Linked DNA regions of Homo sapiens: region 2 is linked to region 1. Evidence: promoter capture Hi-C in 16 types of primary human blood cells and fetal thymus (Javierre and others, 2016). All regions are on one chromosome and are shown on one strand. The core of a region is centred on a gene start or on the middle of the fragment in contact, and the rest is flanking DNA. Distances in the headings are between cores, read along the strand shown.

Region 1 (3,406 bases), core at 639-3,138:
GCTGGTTTCAAACTCCTGGGCCCAACTGATCCTCCCACCTTTGCCTCTGAAAGTGCTGGGATTACAGGTGTGAGCCATCACGCCAGGCTCCCACCTCTACCCTTTTTCAGACAGGGTCTTGCTCTGTCTCCCAGGCTGGAGCACAGTTGTGCAATCAAAGCTCATTGTAACCTTGAACTCCTGGACTCGAGTGATCCTCCTGCCTTAGTCTCCCAGGTAGCTGGGACTACAGGTGTGCACGACCATACCCAGCTAATTTTGTGTGTGTGTTTGGGTGTGTGTCAATGGGGGGGGGGGTCTCACTATATTTCTCAGGCTGGTCTAGAACTCCTGGCTTCAAGTTCTCCTTGTCTTATCCTCCCAAAGTGCTGGGATTAGAGGCATGAGCCATCGTTACTAGAAGGGACATTTTAAAGTATTATATATGTCCTAGGCTAAGGAAGGAGCATTCTAACTAAGTCAGCATTTCCCTAAGTGTGGGCACCCAGCTAGTACCAAAAGCATCACCTGGGAACTGGATATCAATACAGATTCTCAGGTCCCAACCCAGACCTACAAAATCAAACACTTTAAGGCTAAGGGTGGTGGCTCATGCCTCTAATCCCAGCACTTTGGGAGGCCGAGGTGGGTGGATCACGAGGTCAAGAGATCGAGACCATCCTGCCCAACATGGTGAAACCCCATCTCTACTAAAAATACAAAAAAGTAGCTGGGTGTGGTGGTGCACACCTGTAGTCCCAGCTACTTGGGAGGCTGAGGCAGGATGATCGCTTGAACCCGGGAGGCAGAGGTTGCAGTGAGCCAAGATTGTGCCACTGCACTCCAGCCTGGCGGCAGAGCGAGACTCCGTCTCAAAAAAAAAAAACAAAAAAAAAAAAACCAAACACTTTAAAGGTAAGCCCAGCAACCTGTATTTTACAAGCCCTCCAGACAGTTCTGAGGCTCGCTCCAGTTTGAGAACCACTGGTCTAGAGTGTCTCATTGAGTACTTACAGGCCTCTCCGAGGTAGAGGATATGATTGTTCTACTGACAGAAGAAAAACCCGAGACACAGAGCAGTTAAGTGACTTACCTAAGGTCACACAGCTAGGAAATTAGGCAGCCAGGAGTCTACCACTAAACTGCTGGGTGGGGAGGAAAGCCCTTTGCCCATCAGAGTGGTGCTGGGGGTGGCAGGAGGAGTTACCCAGGCTAGGGAGCCACCCACCATCTGCCTCTGTGGGGACAGAAGGGCCAGCTTGCCCAGGAGATGAAGCCCATTCCAGAACCGGCCGCACAGCCAGCCACTAGGCCCTGTCCTGCAGCCCCCTGTAGGGGTCTGGAACAGCCAGGAGTGGTTTAAGAGGCAGGGGAGTCGCCTTGCCCTGTGCCACACTCCCCTCTCCTGGGCCAGGCCCTGCAGGAGCCTGGAGTTTCCAGTCCACGGGGATGGGGAACCAGGAAGCCCCCAGGGAGGGCAGAGACACTCAGCCCAGGCCAGGGATGGAGGTGGGGTGATGAGGAGTGGAAAAGGGGCACGGAGCAGCTCAAACTCCAGGGACAACACGGTACAGATGCCACATACAAGCGACTGCAGCCGTAGCTGGCTCCAGACTCCCTGAAGCATCCACCTGGCCCCCCTGCGCCTGATCCCAAAGAAGTCAGGAATCCTGCCACCCTGGCGAGTGATCTCCCCAGCCCTCCCATGCAGAGGGAGGCCTCAGGGTGCTGCCGGGCTCCCTGGGGAGGGTCCTCTCACCTCTTACTGTCTTTTCTGTTCATGCTTCCCGCGTGGGGTGAGGAGGCCGGGGGTCTTGCAAGAGTAGGGCTCAGCTCCTCCCCTTGCCCAGGACTCCAGCTTCTCAGCCCCTAGGGAGCTGGGGCCTCCTCGGTGCTTGGGAAGGAAAGAGGAACTGCCCCTCCCCACCCACCCTCAGGCCAGGGGGAAGGAAGAGGCTGGGGAGAGACCGAAGGCCCCCCTCCCCCACACGGGGATCCCTTCTGCTGAGGTTTCCGGCATCGCTGGCTCTCCCACCCTCAAGCTCCCCGGCGGGCTCTCTATCTCCCCCATCTTTCGGTGTCGAGACCCGTCACTGTCATACTTCAATAAAAGAAGGGGCTTTTCTTTTTAAAGCATGACTGATATTTATGTAAAAACACACACACTCACTCAAAAAGATAAGTCTGTCTGTCTAGAAGGACATATTCATATATATAATTCATGAAGGTTTGAATGGAAACTCACAAGACATAGTATTTTGTATATTTCTTCATAGGCGTCTCTTATTCCTAGTTTAAGTGATACCATTTGTACCCTGGAAAACATTTTCACTTTCTGACTTTATTGTAACAAACCTCCACATAGCACCTACTGTGTACCACACACTGCTGTAAGGACTTTAAAAATATTAACTCATTTAATCCTCACACAATCCACTGTTACCTTAAAAAAAATTACATACCGGACCAGGCACGGGGGCTCACAGGGGCTCACGCCTGTCATCCAGCACTTTGGGAGGCCAAGGCAGGCGGATCGCTTGAGTCTAAGAGTTTGAGACCAGCTTGAACAACGTGACAAAACCCCGTCTCTACAAAAAATGTAAAACGTTAGGCCGGTGTGGTGGCTCACTCCTGCAATCCCAGCACTTTGGGAGGCCGAGGTGGGCGGATCACCTGAGGTTGGGAGTTTAAGACCAGCCTGAGCAACATGGAGAAACCCCGTCTCTACTAAAAATACAAAATTAGCCAGGCGTTGTGGCACATGCCTGTAATCCCAGCTACTCGGCAGGCTGAGGCAGGAGAATTGCTTGAACCCAGGAGGCGGAGGTTGCCGTGAGCCGAGATCGCGCCATTGCACTCCAGCCTGGGCAACAGGAGCGAAACTCTGTCTCAAAAAAAAAAAGTTAGCTGAGCGTAGTGATGCACACTTGTAGTCCCAGCTACTCAGGAGGCTGAGGCTAGAAGATTGCTTGAGCCCAAGGAGGTCGAGGCTGCAGTGAACCATGATGGTGCCACTGCACTTCAGTCTGCGTGGCAGAGCCAGACCCTGTCTCAAAAAACAAAAAACAAAAAAAAAAAACACACACACACATCAAAAAACATTAGAGATGGAGGTAAAGCCTTGGGGAAGCCCCTCCCCATCCCCTGCCTTTCTTAAGCAGGGTGTGACCAATATGACACGTTGTCGAGTTTCGTCCAAACTGCTGTCTGTGCGTTTAAGCACATCATATAAACATGTGCTCCTAGAAACAGACTTTTCTTTTGAGTGTGCATTTTTTTCTTTTTACCTAAATGTGTCATGCTCGACACTTTTTTTTAAATTGAAGTACAAAAAAGATCACGAATCATTAAGTATTTAGGTTGATGAAATGTCACCAACTGAGCAAACCTGTGTGACATTCATACAAATCCAGACACAGAACATTCT
Region 2 (3,512 bases), core at 750-3,249, 230 kb after region 1:
CCAAGATCGCGCTACTGCACTCCAGCCTGAGTGACAGAACAAGACTCCATCTCAAAAAAAAAAAAAAAAATCAGATGACAGAGGGGAGCGGGGACAAGTTTTAAGTCTAAGCCTCCTGGGTGGGGAGTTCTGCTGTTTCAACATATGCTCCAGTCATGGCAGACTTTGGCCAGACAGCGCCCTTTTTCAGAGTGAACTGAGTGTAGCACAAGTTATCTGCCAGTGCTAGTTAGCAAACAGAATGGAGCCAAAAAAGAATTGATTTGGGAAGGCCCAAGGAATTTGAAACCGTTGAGATGAACACTTTCCGTTTTTGCTACACTGATTTATGTTGTGCTGGGAATTGTACAAGCCTTTGACCAGACCTTAGGGTTGTTCTTTAAAAAAAAAAAAAAAAGATTCCCTTGCTGCTGCTTTTACTTTTTTGAAGGGCAGAAGGGAAGGGCAAATATAATTAGTGAACAGCTGTTTGCTCTAGTATCACTTGCTCGTTCAGGTTTTCTGAATAGCTGAAATATCAACATGTTTATCTCTTCCCTTGCCTTAGTATATCCTAGAGCAGTGTTTTCCCCGGCTTTATCTTTATTCCTTCATTTAATGAACTCCGTGTTTTCATCACTCACATTTTGTTCCCTTCCCTCAGTTTCCTTCCTTTGCCTTCATTTATGTATTTAGTTTACAGAATAACAAAAGCACTCGTGTTACTTTTAAACAAGGTAAAACTTAAACAGTTTTTTCCTCCGTTTCTTTTTTTATGGAAATAAGAGGCAAGTGATAGCAAGTGGGTAATTCAATGGCAGTGGTAACTGAAGCACTGACCTGTTACAAGAGAGACGGAAGCTTCTACTTGAGCAGATACAAATACTGTCATCCGTGGAGATTTGAAAGAAGTCTTTCTATCACTGGGTAGTTTGAGAGCTCATTAGTCTTCTTTAGAATGGGTTTAAACTTGGAAACATCAAAGCAAGTTACAAGGAAACTTAGTTTTACAGTGTTGGCAGCCTAGGCGCCAGAATTTGTTATAAAGTGTCTGAAAGTGGCCCAGGTATCACTTAACTTTTCTTCAAGAAGGTCTATGAGTTACATTTTACTCGGTATCCCAGGCATCAAGGAGTGTAACTTTCAATGAATCAAAGAGAAACAGAATCATTTTAAATTCCAGCCTCTGTTTAAAGAAGGATCTTATGAAGGGGAGAAATTAACCACCTGACCCAGGGAAGGATCCCGCCTCCTCCAGAAAGTGAAATCGCCGGGTGTGGTGGCTCACGCCTGTAATCCCAGCACTTTGGGAGGTCGAGGTAGGTGGATCACGTGAGGTCAGGACTTCAAGACCAGCCTGGCGAACATGGTGAAACCCCATCTCTACTAAAATGCAAAAAATTAGCCGGGCACGGTGGTGCACCCCTGTAATCCCAGCTACTGGGGAGGCTGAGGCAGGATAATCACTCAAACCTGGAAGGTGGAGGTTGCAGTCAGCTGAGATCACGCCACTGCACTCCAGCCTGGACGACAGAGTAAGGCTCCGTCTCAAAAAAAAAAAAAAAAGAAAAAGAAAAGGAGTTAAATCTTTGCATATATTTAACTGGCAAGAGCATCCTTACATCAGTGCATGGGAAGTTTTATCCAAGTAGCAGTTTCCCTGGGATTATAAAAATCCCCGAGGCATTTGTCTTGGTGTTGTGCCTTTTTTTGGTTGTGTTTTTTCACGTCCCTCCCCTCCCCTTTCTCCATAAACAAGAGAGGCATTAACTTGGAATGTCCGTGGAAAGTCTTAGAAGCTGATTGGTGTAATTTGCCTGCCTTCCCTTTAGTTTGAACAGCGTTTACTCTGGAAGAGGTCAGTGGCCTTTTTCTTGGTTGTGATTTATGCAAGTGTTATCTGAAGGCGAGTGGAGTGAGTTTACGTGGGATTTGCTGTTTGCCACCTGTTGTTGTGCTGGCTCCTTCCTTCCTGGGATGAGTTCCATTCTCTCCCCCTCCCCCAGGAGTGAGGCTCCCCAGCCAGAGCAGTCCCCCTGTGCTTATCCCCTTCCTTCGTAAACTGCAGCCATTTGTGATTTTCCATAACCACTTTTATAGACACATAATAATTTCCTTTGAATCAGTTTGCATTTTAAATTAAGTTTTGAAAGGAAAACTGACAAGAGTATGGCAACTGGAAAACCCAGCTCCCCTGGCCATAAATATAATAGAAGGAAACTGCAAAAATAAACACATTGAAAACAAAACAGTGTTGTTTCCAGGTGGTTACCACTCGGGCTGAAGGCCCCCCAGGCTTGAGGCCTGCTCCCTTTGTTAGAAAGGGATTGGCAAGTGTTGGTGAGGTGTTAAAGACCCACCAGCACCAAGCAGAGACTTTCTCTTTGAAGTCATCAGGTTTACAAGAGAATCAAAGGAAATAACTTTCTCAATGTGATTCAGGGTGTAATGTAAGGTGTAGATAACCCTTAAAATTTTCCATGTGTGTATGTCACACTTGGGAAAAAAACTTGATCTCATCTGGTCGAGGTGGGCAGGGCAGCACCTTGTCCAGGAGCACACAGCCCCTCTTGGCTCTGTGTGTCATCCGGCCATACTAGACTCGAACATATGGCTCATGACTGGATGATGCTTGATTCATCTTCAGTTTCAAGTGTTAGTGCTTTTGAGGTTTTGTAAGAAACCAGGACACATTGAAAATACAGTCATTTCTCAGTATCTGTGGGGGATTGGTTCCAGGAACCCCCTTATATACCAAAATCCACAGATGCTCAAGTTCCTTATGTAAGATAAAACGATGTGTAATTTGCATTTTAACTATGCACATCCTCCTGAATACTTTAAATCATCTCTAGATTACTTATAACCTAATGCTAAATGCTACGTAAATGGTTGTTACACTGTGCTGTTTAGGAAATAATGACAAAAATATGTACATGTTCAGTGCAGATGCAACCATTCATTTTTTTTCTTCCAGTATTTTCGATCCATTGTTGGTTGAATTCACAGATAGAGAACCCATGGATACAGAGGGCTAGCTGTAAGAAATGTGGGTTTATCATTTGTTCCTCACACAACTTTTTTCTTTCTTCGTTTTTCTTGCCTTTGTTCCTTTTTTTTGAGACAGGGTGTCACTCTTTTTACCAAGGCTGGAGTGCAGTGGAACAATCTTGGCTCACTGAAGCTTTGACCTCGGGCTCAAGCCATCCCCCCACCTCAGCTTCCCAAGTAGCTGGGACTAGAGGTGCACACCACCACGCCTGACTGATTTTTGTGTTTTTGTAGAGATGGGGTTTTGCTGTGTTGCCCAGTCTGGTCTCAGCCTCCCAAAGTCTTGGGATTACAGGTGTGAGTCACCACGCCCAGCCAACTTTTTCTCTTAAGGCTCCAGTTTTCTTCTTAGAGTTGGGCCCCTCCCACGAAGAAAGCACACTGCCACCCCTTCATCGGATTTGAACCCTACATTTTGAAAGGAAAGCAGTGCCCTCCTGCTGAGTTAACAAGGCTTATTTAAATGTTTTTCTTCCAAATAT

What was found. The method cuts DNA at HindIII sites, captures the fragments that hold promoters and counts their contacts. A CHiCAGO score of 5 or more calls a contact.
Region 2: a fragment that was not itself captured here is called in contact with the fragment with the promoter of RASGRP4 in region 1 in 1 of 17 cell types (neutrophils); the score reaches 5.4 in neutrophils.

The regions. Positions count from the first base shown.
Region 1 is chr19:38,424,331-38,427,736 of GRCh38, forward strand. It overlaps RASGRP4 (RAS guanyl releasing protein 4), which reads right to left and starts at 1,889. Exons shown (of 17, transcript NM_170604.3): 1 at 1,739-1,889. The coding sequence starts at 1,761. RefSeq lists a silencer at 1,765-1,824 and an enhancer at 2,717-3,231. The HindIII fragment of the contact is 20,985 bases long and covers 1-3,406 here.
Region 2 is chr19:38,653,033-38,656,544 of GRCh38, forward strand. All of the region lies in intron 1 of ACTN4 (actinin alpha 4), which reads left to right. Among named protein-coding and RNA genes, the nearest start is that of ACTN4, 7.1 kb to the left of the region's middle. RefSeq lists enhancers at 1-311, 850-1,718, 1,719-2,587 and a silencer at 2,707-2,756. The HindIII fragment of the contact is 2,323 bases long and covers 839-3,161 here.